Linked DNA regions of Homo sapiens: all the other regions are linked to region 3. The links are contacts of gene promoters, found by promoter capture Hi-C in human tissues and cell types (Jung and others, 2019). All regions are on one chromosome and are shown on one strand. The core of a region is centred on a gene start or on the middle of the fragment in contact, and the rest is flanking DNA. Distances in the headings are between cores, read along the strand shown.

Evidence for each region. Contacts are between HindIII fragments. The study calls those that stand out against the background at their distance.
Region 1: a contact is called between a fragment that was not itself captured here and the fragment with the promoter of MAF in region 3, in 1 of the 25 tissues and cell types used here (heart left ventricle).
Region 2: a contact is called between a fragment that was not itself captured here and the fragment with the promoter of MAF in region 3, in 1 of the 25 tissues and cell types used here (mesenchymal stem cells).

What each region holds. Positions count from the first base shown.
Region 1 is chr16:80,461,021-80,465,081 of GRCh38, forward strand. The region is part of intron 2 of DYNLRB2-AS1 (DYNLRB2 antisense RNA 1); the gene reads right to left. Among named protein-coding and RNA genes, the nearest start is that of DYNLRB2, 78 kb to the right of the region's middle. The HindIII fragment of the contact is 5,772 bases long and covers 1-4,061 here.
Region 2 is chr16:78,747,691-78,751,561 of GRCh38, forward strand. All of the region lies in intron 8 of WWOX (WW domain containing oxidoreductase), which reads left to right. Among named protein-coding and RNA genes, the nearest start is that of WWOX-AS2, 250 kb to the left of the region's middle. The HindIII fragment of the contact is 9,408 bases long and covers 1-3,871 here.
Region 3 is chr16:79,597,820-79,602,104 of GRCh38, forward strand. MAF (MAF bZIP transcription factor) reads right to left here and starts at 2,918. Exons shown (of 2, transcript NM_005360.5): 1 at 966-2,918. The coding sequence starts at 2,083. LOC101928230 (a long non-coding RNA gene) reads left to right here and starts at 3,068. Exons shown (of 3, transcript NR_188556.1): 1 at 3,068-3,170; 2 at 4,228-4,285. RefSeq lists an enhancer at 2,833-3,127. The HindIII fragment of the contact is 24,643 bases long and covers 1-4,285 here.

The DNA.
Region 1 (4,061 bases), core at 1,203-3,702, 860 kb after region 3:
ACAAAAGGGAATCTATTAGAAAATGAACTAACCAATCTAAAAGGGCATAAGTAGGGTTGCTTAAAACCTTCTACATCCAGTACTCTGATCCTCTTCAACTCTTGCCAGAATCCAGAGAGAGAGAGAGGATACCCTAGCTCTGTTTCCTGCCAGTATGTCTGTTAAACCAGGGCCTCTGCCAGGTGAGTCTCGCTGCTGTGGAATGATATCCTGGGATGCAGAGTTGCCAATGTGTACCTATTCATTTGCACTGAGAGAGAGGCACACCTCATGTCAGGACCCTCACAGATCCAAATGGTTTAGGGAAGCAGATTCTGAATCAAACCAAGCTCCTCTGCACAACCAGCCACCACCACTTGGCCATACCTGTAGCTGTGGAGTCAGGACTCTCTTTGGAGTCTTACAAAGGGAGAACAAATTGAATAAAGATTAAGGAGTATGAGCAGTGATAGGGTTTGCCTCTGTGTCTCCGCCCAAATCTCACCTCAAATTGTAATCCCCACTTATCAAGGGAGGGACCTGGTGGGAAGTGATTGGCTCGTGGGGGGCAGTTTCCCCCATGCTGTTCTCATGACACAGAGTGAGTTCTCATGAGATCTGACGGTTTAAAAGTGAGACACTTCTTTATTCTCTCTCTCCTGCCGCCATGTGAATAAGGTGTTTGCTTCCCCTTCACCTTCCACCATGATTGTAAGTTTCCTGAGGCCTCCCCAGCCATGCAGAACTAAGTCAAACCTCTTTCCTTTATAAATTACCCCATCTCAAGTGGTTCTTTATAGCAGTTTGGAAACAGACTAATACAAGCAGTATTCTTGCCCACCCCTAAATGTACAAGTGTCCCAGGGCAGCACTCAGGCACCTGTTTTAAGAACCACCTGACCCATCTCTGCACCCAGCTATGCTGACTTGGGAGGCAGGAACAAGCCCAAATCCTGGCTGGTCCTCATGACTTTGATCCTTCAAAGCTTGCATTTAAGAAAAAAAGAAAGAAAACATGGAAAGGCAGTTAGGTTTCCATTTTCCGTTGTGCCTGATGTAGTGTTCATGCAGCAAGGAACAGACAGTTTAAGGGACCTTGTCCGGTTTCCAAAGAATTCCCAGATGCAAATTTCCCAGGAGCAAGCAAACGTGGTCTTTACTTTCTGTAGCTGCTAACTTATGAAGGAATGCATGCTCTTCAAAAAATATTTTGTAAAGATGTTCTTATTTTTTCCAAAGCCATTGACTTACAACTGGCATCTGTAGGCTACCAAAAGTAATTATAATAAATGAAGAGAAACTAGAGAAATGTTGCACAGGAAAGGGGAAATAAAAAGGAAATTTTATATACACGTACAAATGCATGTAGATGCGTGTATGTACATATGTAAATTCATTTTGTTTTCAAATTTAATGTCAAAACAGCTATAATTGCTCATTCTCCTTGTGTCAGGGGAGGAGGGATCATGTGCTCAGATGTCACCAAATGCTTCTTAAGTTCTCAACTACAAAGGACATTTTCCCTGCTCAATTTCATTATGGGAACATAACTTTACTGTCACCAACCATACAGGGAAAATCAGGTAACAAAAGAAGGAAGGATTGTGTCATTGTTGTTGCTGCTGCCGTATACAAAATATACAGTGATCGCAGAAAACCTCAAAAATATACACTCGTGAGAAAGACAACACAGAATCCTGCCACCCAGATGACTGCTGTTCACATGCTTGGTGTACACCCTTCAAGATTTCCCCCCTGCACCCAGGCACACACCTATACATTATAAACACATATACACATATGTGTGCATGTAGACATTCACATGGGCATAAGTACTATTGTCCCTGACACTTTTTTCTTCAGAATTGTGGCACAGATTGGAGGACCCCTAGGACACAGACAGGGCATCACCACCCACTGATGGTAACTGTGAAATATCTAGAACAGGGGCCCTCACAAGTTTTTCTGTAAAAGGGCAGATGATAATTATTTTACGCTTTGCAGGCCAGAGGGTCACAACTACTCAATGCTGCTATTATACCTGGAAAAGCAACCATCGATAATACGTGAGCAAATAGCTGTGGTTGTGTTCCGATAAAGCTTTATTTACAGAGCAGGAGGCGGGCTGGTGGCCCAAGAATAGTTTGCCACTCCCTGGTTTAGAACATACCATAAACCAAAAAGAGTCAAGAGAGCAGGAGACAGATTGAAGTGCATCCCTCACTGAAGAGCAAATTTCTTTTCCGTGGTCTGTGCTAGTCTCTTGCAGCAACCGTTTCTGCTTTAATGTGCATCCTCTGATACAATAATGACTATAGATAATTAGATTAAGTGAAGTTCACCCTTGTCCCAAAACAAGCTTTTTGAGACAGCAATTTCACTCCCTTTTTCTAGCTCCAGTTTCAGGGAGGGAGCCAGAACAGAAGTCACACTGACATGTCACAGGAATGCAGCAAGGTGAGGCCAGGGTGGCGTTCACTCATGTAAAACACCCTGGATCACACACCATCAGTAAATGATTTATTAAAAGCTACAAGATAAACACCGATAAAGTCTTCAGATACAGAGGCCCATGACATCTGCACAGGATGAGAGAATCAGAATGATTAATAGGGAAGGAGACAGGCTGGAAATACAGAAGACCTGCACCACCTGTGGGGAAGATCCTGGAGAACACATTTCCCACCTGCAAACAGCCTTCCAACCTCAGGCAATAAAATACACCTCTAATAACAAAAGCCATTTTGCACTATTTTCCCCCCTAGGTTTTGAGATGTAGCTCCTAAGTCCTTCATAGTGTTCAGATCCGTACCGACACAGCCTATTCTCAACAGTCACCTGACAGGCAGGGAGACCCTGCTTCTCCCGTTGAATCTTAATGACCAAGCAAATCTTAATGCGCAGCTCCAGCCGGGAGGTTTTGCAGATGCACATCCTGCACCCTCTGAGTCGCCCTCTCTCCCTGGATGAGCCAGGCCTTTCAAGGATCAGTGCCTGCACTTAACTCAATGTTCTGCTCAGCTGCTCACTCCAACCTTGCCCTTTCTTGCAGCTTCTGCAGAGATCCAAGATGTCTTCTGGGAATTTCAGCCAACAAGGGGAAATGACACTCCAATTAAACCTTCCTCTGTGATTTTCTGTTTCTTCCCACCTCACACCCATGTGCACACACTCAACCACACTTGTTTTCTACTCAGTTACCTATGGAAACACAGTCTTTTTGTGCCTGCCTCGGTGTTGGTTCCTGGAGATAAAAAGATTAATAAAATACAGTTGGTGACCTTTAATACCTTGTAGCCTATTGGGTAAGAATGATATGGACATAGAACACTCAACATCATGCAATCATGTTGTCGTCATGGTGTGTAAAAAGTACTACAGATCCAAGGATAAACAGACACAGGCACACACAAAAATGCAATAGCAAAAAGTCTGCAAGGAAGGATTGGAAATAGATAATGGTAAATGCCCCCTTCCCATTCCAAAAAAGGGTGTGGGAATGTGGATTAGATGAAGAAAGAGGTGGAATGTCTGTCATGTTTGGGTGTTTTGGTTTTGGTTTTGCATTAAAAATGTATTATACTTAGTGATATTATTTCTACTACCATGTAATTTAATTCTAAAATCCTCTAATTGCAGTTGAGCCAGGAGAAAGGTAACAGCACCTAGGGGACAAAATTCAAGGAGGCATTTGCTCCTGGAGGGATGGAGGTGTAGGGCTGGCTAAAGTAGCACAGAGAAGAGAGCAAGGAACGGTGGGAGCTTGGGAAAGACCTCAGAACAGGGCCATGTTGGAGCTGGGCCTTGCAAATTGGGAGAAAGAGAGAGATGATCCTGGGAGAGAAGAGAGATGATTTGGCAGAGAGAGCAGCATGGGGGAAAGGCAGGGAAGTACAATGGAGGATGATGAGTAATTATGAATGCCAAGGACAGAGAATGTGGGGTGAGAAGGAGAAAGAAAAACACACATATGAATACTTGCACACACACACTCATACATACACATGCCCAGATAGCATTTTCATTAAAGGGTCAACTTGTATGCTCACCAGCAGTATCTAAAATGAGATTGAGTGGCTGGC
Region 2 (3,871 bases), core at 850-3,349, 850 kb before region 3:
GTTTCCTCGATTACTGTCTGCCTCTTCTTCCCTAGAGCGTCAGCCCATGAGCTTATCCAGCCTACAGAGGAGATGCTGCAGCTTGGCAGAGCATGGATTGCTCAACATACCAGAGTTTAGTCCTACCTCTGTCTCCAAGCTGCTCCATGATCAAGGATAAACTATAATCTTTCTCTCTGCCTCAGTTTTTCCACCTGTCAGTGGAGGGGCATGCTCTTGGATGCCTGAGTTTTTCTTAGACTCAGCATCCTGCAGCCGAAATAACCATGCTTCTTAGTGGTCCTCTTGCGTAGCAGCCTAAGAAACTCCAAGTCCATCTGCGCCGAAGAGTATTGAACTTGGCCAGAGCACTTGGGATCTGCAGAAGTGTCCCCTGTCTGTTAGTTTTTTCACAGACTCTGCTCTTTCTCTCCCAGACCGGACCCTCCACTCCTCTATCTCGCATTTATCCATTGCACCCCGTGTCATTGCCGAATTCCTGAGCTACAAAGGTGAACAGGCACCAAAGCTAGGGCAGTGTCCACTCAATACATATCTGATGAATGAATGAATGAACCTTGTCTACCACAGATAGCTCACCACAAATAAACATTTTAATCTACTATAAAATAGCTCAAAAGACTCTATGCAAATAATTACTGTTACCCAGTGGTGGAAGTGCTTCACTTTTTATGGAAAGTCTTTCACTCATTTCTATCTGCAGTATTTACTGGGCATTTTTCCACGCCAAGCCCTGGGGATACAGAGTTAAATAAAATAGAAGCTTAATCCAGGCATGCTGGCTGTAAAGTTCACCTTTCGGCTCCTTTCTGCCATTCTTATTAGGGTCTTGCCCCATCTTGGCAGCAAGCCTGCTTTACCATTGGAGACCTCAGCTCTGATTACAATACGTCCGTGATCAACATGCCCTAACTGGTTAGCAGATGGCAGCTGCATGAAGTCACTGGGCCCAGATAGGAATCAACAAGGGAGATTAGGTAAAGTGCTTATTTGAGGTGCTGTCAGGGCCCGTGGCAAAGGGTTCCCTCATTCCCTCTGCAGTTATTTTTCATGCACACTCGGATTACACTGCTCGGTGATATTACATCTGCATGCGTCTTGCCCTCTGACACGGCAAACACAGATGCTGCCCAAATCCTTGTAAAGCCATATATCTTAAGTAGGAAGGAGCATCTTTGCAGGGGAGGTGAATTGATTTGCAAAGCAGCCTGACACATGGTCTCTTATTTCTCCTTGCAATCAAATAATTCATCTTTATGCCCGTAGGGCCGTGGTGAAATTTGAACCTGACCAAATCAACGACTGCAAGGTTTATTTGTAGCAGTGGGATCAGAGAAATTAGCCAAGTGTATTCTAAAATTATCAATTGCTGATCACATGGTCTGGATGTGTTTTAGTGCTTAGGGGTTGGTGGACCGAGGCTATGGTGGCATAGTCCTCCATGACCAAGGGCTGTCTGCATGGGTACGCAGATAAAACATGCACTGCCATGGGGTGACCTGTGTGCCATGCATCACACACAGACTACTGTTTAACCACCTACATCATAGGTAGATCCTGCATTTTACAAATGAGGAAACAGAGCTCGAGAGAAGTTCAATCCTCTTCCCTACAGAGAGGAAAGGGGAAAAAAATGGACTTTCAAGACAGCTGAAATTCAAAACAAAACAATGTTTTAAAATTGAATACAGCCTTTTGCATTAAAATTACCATTTTAATAATAGTTTAAAAGAGAGAAAGAGAGAGACCCAAAATAGTCAAACTGAGGTTTTGGGTTCTGGTGATAGAATATTAAATCATAATGAAGCATTTAATGTTTTGTTGTTGTTACAATTGTTGTTTTACCCTAGGGCTATGCAAAGTAGTTTAAGGATGTATTTATTTCAGTGGGGAAAAAAAGTGGAGGATATACATTTGGAGGATAAGGAAGCATGAATTAGGGTGGAGGAAGTGTTTTCTGGTCTAGCTAAGGAGGAAAAATTATAGACCTCAAAATAGGTGTCATTTAATATATATCTGTGAAAATGGGCCAAATAGATTGCCTCCGTTAAAGCCGTATTGGATGTTCAAATCTCGAGTTACCTGAAATGCAACTGTACTTCCTATATTTAACCAGGCTTTTTATAAACTGTTCCTCTTAACACCTCAAGCTGACAACCACATCCTGGGTGGTTATTTAATACCAAGTTTGACTTTCTTCACTTTGAGGGTCCTCAAAATAGAAGGTCAGAGAGTAGACTTTTAAAAGTCTTGCACTGTTTACAAGTCAGATGCTTTTTGGCAGAGTGACTCTCAGCTCCCCCCAACAATCCCTTCTTGTCGTTCAGTAGTAGATAGACTCTATCAGGGAAAAATAGGAGAAATAAAATAAGACAGCATATGGAAGGCATTGCTGAAAGTCTTTTTCACACCTTAAAAACAAGGAAGAAGAGAAATGAAAATAAAATAGTGAGCAACACCTCGGTGAAAGTAGAGGTGTTTGTACAGTTCAGCTGCTGCCTTATTCAAAAACAGGAAGAAAAACCCACTGCCCAGGTCAGCTGGTGGGTGATCTCCACTGAACTCCTATTCAGAGGCTCAGTTTCTCTGCAGGACAGAAATGAGAGGCACAAAATTTCATAGCTGTCTTGCCCCTCCTGTGGTCTGTAAGAATGGGACCAGGACTCCTAGTTGTGAACCCGAAAGGATTTCCATTAGGATCAGGAAGTGTGAGTTGGCTTAGAAAAAGTAAAGAAAGAACAGTGCTGTTTCATTTATTTATCATGTGTAAGTAAACTGGGATTTATTTTATTTTATTTTTTATTTTTTGTTTCAGTTTCGGGGGGTACATGTGTAGGTCTGTTACATGGATATCTTGCAAGATACTGAGATTTGGGCTTCAATTGAACCCATCACCCAAATTAGTAAACATAGTACTCAATAGGTAGTTTTTCAATCCTTTTCTCCTTCCCTCCCTAGTCCCCCCTTTTGAAGTCCCCAGAGTCTATTGTTCCTGTCTTCATGCCCATGTGTACGCAGTGTTGAGCTTCGACTTGTAAGTAAGAACATGCGGTATTTGGTTTTCTGTTTCTGCATTTATTCGCTCAGGATAATGGCTTCAAGCTGTATCCACGTTGCTGCAAAGAACATGATTTTCTTCTTTTTTATGGCTGTGTAGTATTTCGTGGTGTATACGTACCACATTTTCTTTAACTAATCCACCATTGATGGGCACTTAGGATGATTCCATGTCTTTGCTGTTGTGGGTAGTGCTGCCAAGAACGTGAGTGCAGGTGTCTTTTTAGTAGAGTGATTTATTTTCCTTTGAATGTATACCCACTAATAAGATTGCTAGGTCAAATGGTAATTCTATTTTTAGACCTTTGAGAAATCTCCAATTTATTTTTCATAGGGACAAGGTTGCAGAGAAAAGAGAAGAGTGCTGTTTCAAACAGTTGAAACCATTCCTACTTCCAAAAAGAATTTGACTCAAAAGGGAATAGTACACTACATATAAAAGACAGATGTATTTAATTTGTGTTTCGAACTACATATCAGAAATTAGTTAGAAGAAGATATGAGATAAATATACCTGGAAACTTTATGAATTATTTCTGACATCTAGCATTAAATTTAGCTGGGTTTCCTGGGAGTCAAAAGCAAAGAGTTTTCAACCAAAAAAAAGAAACAGAGGTGTATAGTAACACACCTCTGTCCTGCAACATAACTGTAAGAATTTATCAGATTATATATATATATATTTATCAGATTATATATATATTTATCAGATTTTATATATATATATATATATATATATATGCATATGTTTGTATATAAATATACATGTAAAGACCCAAAACTCATATAAAAAGACAAGGTGATACAGCATTTT
Region 3 (4,285 bases), core at 1,668-4,167:
AATGTCTCTTTTCCATAAAGTCTTTGAAACAGTTATAGTTCATTGTTGCTAAGACAAAGTAGCAAGCATAATAATGCATGAGATGAGAATGAGTTTTTTTAATGGCAGACTAAACTCTCAGATTTGGCATCACAAGGCCAAAACTCACAAGTCACACCCAGAAGGTTGATGCAGGCTTGATTGTGGAAGGTTCATGAGGATTTTTTTCTCTATTTTAGCATAACAATGCTAAAAAAAAAACCCGATGGAACTCGGCACGCTGCAAGTCTATAACATTTCACATTTTTTTTTCCTTTGCAAGCTCAATCTCACATGAAGAACTCAGGAGAAGAAAAAAAAACTTTGCTTTTTTTTTTCTTTCATCTCGGAAGAGATGGGTTGAGAAGGAGTGAGGGTGGAGGTTGGAAAAAAGGTGGGCAACACAGCAAGCTCTAAAAGTAAAATTAAAAAAAAAAATCCAAACAAAATAAAACACACACACACACAGAAAATGAACACCAGTTCATGAACTGAAGGGGAAGAAGAAGAAAAAATATGTGAATGATGCAGGCTTCAAAGGTGATCAACGTTTCACATGAAGAACTCTGCTGAGATCATTGAACATTGTGCAAGTCCGGGGGTGGGGCGGGGGGGTGTAAAAAAAAAAAAAAAACAAGCTAGCAAGTTATGGAGAATTTCAGATTGGCAATCCATGAGCCAGACACCCATTCCCTCCCCAGTTTAAAACAGCCACCACCACCACAAACTCGAGCAGGGTGTGGGGTGTGTGTGTGTGTGTGTGTGTGTGTGTGGTGTGTGCGTGCGGGTTTGTGTGTGTGTAGGGGGCCAAGGGGGCCAAACTCGGTGGGGGTGGGGGTGGTGAGGTGGTGGCGAGCATGGCTCTAGAACTAGCAAGCCCACACCCGAGCCGGACCCCCGCGGAGCACTTATCAGGGTGGCTAGCTGGAATCGCGTGTCAGACTCACATGAAAAACTCGGGAGAGGACGGGTTGTCGCTGCTCGAGCCGTTTTCTCGGAAGCCGCTGCTCACCAACTTCTCGTATTTCTCCTTGTACGCGTCCCTCTCGCGCACCAGCCTGGAGATCTCCTGCTTGAGGTGGTCGACTTGCTGCAGCAGCTGGTTCTTCTCCGACTCCAGGACGTGTCTCTGCTGCACCCTCTTGAAGCGGCAGGACTGGGCATAGCCGCGGTTTTTCAGGGTCCGCCTCTTCTGCTTCAGCCGGATCACCTCCTCCTTGCTGACCCCGCGCAGCTGCCGGTTCAGCTCGCGCACAGACATGGTCACCAGCTGCTCGTCGGAGAAGCGGTCGTCGAAGTGCAGGCCGCCGGCGGCGTGGTGCGGGTGCAGGGCGCCCCCCGCCCCCGCCGCGCCCCCGCCGCCTCCGCCGCCGCCGCCGCCGCCGCCGCCCCCAGCGCTGGCCGGGCCACCGCCGCCCGCGCCCCCAGCGCCACCGGCCGAGGCGGCCGCGCTGCCCGCGGCGCCGGGCGCGCCGGCCGTCGGGTGGTGGTGGTGGCCGGCGGCGTGGTGGTGGTGGTGGTGGTAGTGCGGGCCCGCGCCGCTCTGCGCGGCGGCCGCGGCGATCACGGCGGACACCACGGCGGCGGCGGGGCCCATCTCCTCGCCGCTGCCGCCCAAGGAGGCGCCGGCACCGGCCCCGGCCGCCGCGGCCAGCTGCTGCGCCCCGCGCGCGTAGCCATCGAAGCCGCCCTGGAGCTGGTGGCTGTTGCTGATGAGCGCCTCGACCGCGTCCTCGGGGCTGAAGCCCAGCGCCTCGGGGTTCAGCTGCTGCGGGTAGCCGGTCATCCAGTAGTAGTCTTCCAGGTGCGCCTTCTGCTCGCTGCCCGAGCCCGGGCTGGGCGCCGAGAAGCTGGGGGAAGGGGGCACCGAGCTGCACGGCGTGCTCATGGGGGTGGAGGACAGCGAGCCCCCGGCGATGAGACGGCCGCACTGGCTGATGATGCGGTCGGTCTCCACCGGTTCCTTTTTCACTTCAAACTTCATCAGATCGAAGTCATTAACATATTCCATGGCCAGGGGACTGGTGGGCAGGTCGGAGTTGCTCATTGCCAGTTCTGATGCCATTCTCCTGCCGCCGCCGCCGCCGCCGCCGCCGCTCCGCCAGATGGGCTGCAGGAGAGGGGCCAGCGGGCTGTGCTGGGTGGCCAGCGGGTGAGCCAGCTTGCCGGGCTGGGGCGCTTCTAGCTTGCGCGGCGGTGGCTGGCCCGAAACCTCCGAGCGCGCTCACACACACACCCCCCCGCCCTGCCCGCGCCCCCCGCGCCCGCCCTCCCTCCCCCCTGCTCACGCCAATGTGCTCCCTCGCTCGCCCCGGCCCCTCCTTGCTCGCTCGCCTCCTTGCGCGCCGAGCCGGCGGCTTCAGGCTCGGGAAGATCCTCCGCGAGCTGCGGTGGCGGCGGTGGTGGCTGCGGCGGCGAAGCTGGAGGAGCCCGGCCCGGTGCGCGGCGTCCCCCGCTCGCCGCTCCGCTGCGCGCTTTGCATAAGGAAGGGCTCGCCTCGCCGGCCCGGGCTGCAGGCAGGGCGCGCGCGGCGTCCGCTCGGGGCTGGAGGCGCGGCGGGCGTCTGTCCGGGCGGCGCGGGCCTTGGCACGGGGGAGTTAACACTTCATGCTTCTCGCCTCCTCTTCTGCTTGGCTCTCTTTATTATTTTTTTTCTTTCCTCTCTCTCCCTCGCGCGCTCTCTACCTCTGTGCAAAGTGCAAGGCAGAGGTGCAGCCCGACTGGAGGAGAGGGAGGGGGGAGTTTAGTTCTTTCTTGCCTTTTTTTAAAAAAGCAAAATAGCGAAGTCCTGGGGAAAGACGAGGCAGAGAGCAAAGGGGGGAGGGGGAGGCCAAGCCGACAAGCAGCCCGAGCTACAGCTAGAAGATGAAAAAAGATTTTAAAGCCTCTGATCCAGCAAGAAGAGTTTAAAGCAATTGCTGAGTTTTATAGCACTCGTGACGTCAGGTCCAAATGAGAAATTGACTGGCACTCCGGGCCAATGGGAGGCGGCGAGAGCGGCCGCGATTAGCATAATAGTATAGAAACAAGGAAACTTTTCGGAGCTGTCAATCAGGGCCCAATCAGCTGACTGTCAGCTGGGACGGGCTGGCTTAACCCTTCCTGCGCCGCTGCCTACCCGGGAGGGAACGAGGCCCGGCGCAAAGTTTGGTGTAAGAGGGGAAGGAGTTTTTCCAGAGGGGCTTCGGCAATCCGGGCGGACCTGGGAGGGCGGTTTGCTTTTCTTTGGAGCGCGAGACAGGCCTCCCATCCGGAGCCCCAGCTCGCTGGGGGCTCACTCGGCTGGGATTGGCCTGATTCCCCTCCCCTGCCTGCCCTCCACCCCCAGGATTGTGAATTCGCCTCCCAGCTTTTCCTCCTCGCACCAACTCTGGTACCCAGGTGTCTGCCGGGGACCTTCCTTCCCTGAGCCTGGCCGTGCCCGGCGCTCAAACTTGGCCCCAACTCTTTGTCCGTCTCTCGGGCGCCCGTGCGGGGAAGGGACCGGGAAGGGAGGGATGCAGTGGGGTGTCCGGATCGGGGCTGCGGGCTGGGCGCCGCCCGGCCATGCGCCTGCCCAGAAGGCTGGGCATCCGTGGAGAGGGAAAGCCCATTTTATCCCTCTCTTTACAACGAGGTAAAATAAGTTGTTTAGAGGCCATTCTTCACGGAGACCGGCTGCCCGCTGGCGTCGCGTGCCCTTGGACAGAGCGAGCGCCTATGCGAGATAACTCCGGGGAAGCTCAAAGTCAGGTCAGCCGGGCTCAGCCTTCCGGCTCCTGACTGGCCGGAGTTTGGCCTTTGAGACTCATATTGCGCGCTCGCTCTCTCTCTCTCTTACACACACACACACAAACACACACACACTCACACTCACCCGTCCCCTTACGAAATCTGACCTCTGTTTATCAGGGTCAGGCGCGCCCTTTGCACTTTTACGTTTCCTTTAATTATTTCGGACTTGATCGTGGCAGGGAGCAAGGGGGAAAAACAATACCCCAGCCCTCACCAGCTACCCTCGAAGGGTTAAATTTTAAACCGCGGTTTCTGGAACTAGTCCGGAAACGCAGAGTGGGGGGTGGGGTGGGGGAGGCTGCTCCCCCCACCCCCAGTTGCAAATGCTAATAAGTAGTTCAAATTTCTAGATTGATTCTCTAAAAGTTTATGCAAAAAAGAAATAAAAAAGAAAAAGAAAAAAGAAGGAAACCAACAACTAACTCTGTTTCTAAGATTTTAAAGCGATAGGCAAGTCGAAGAAGCAGAGATTTATTTGGAGAGAAAGCTCCTG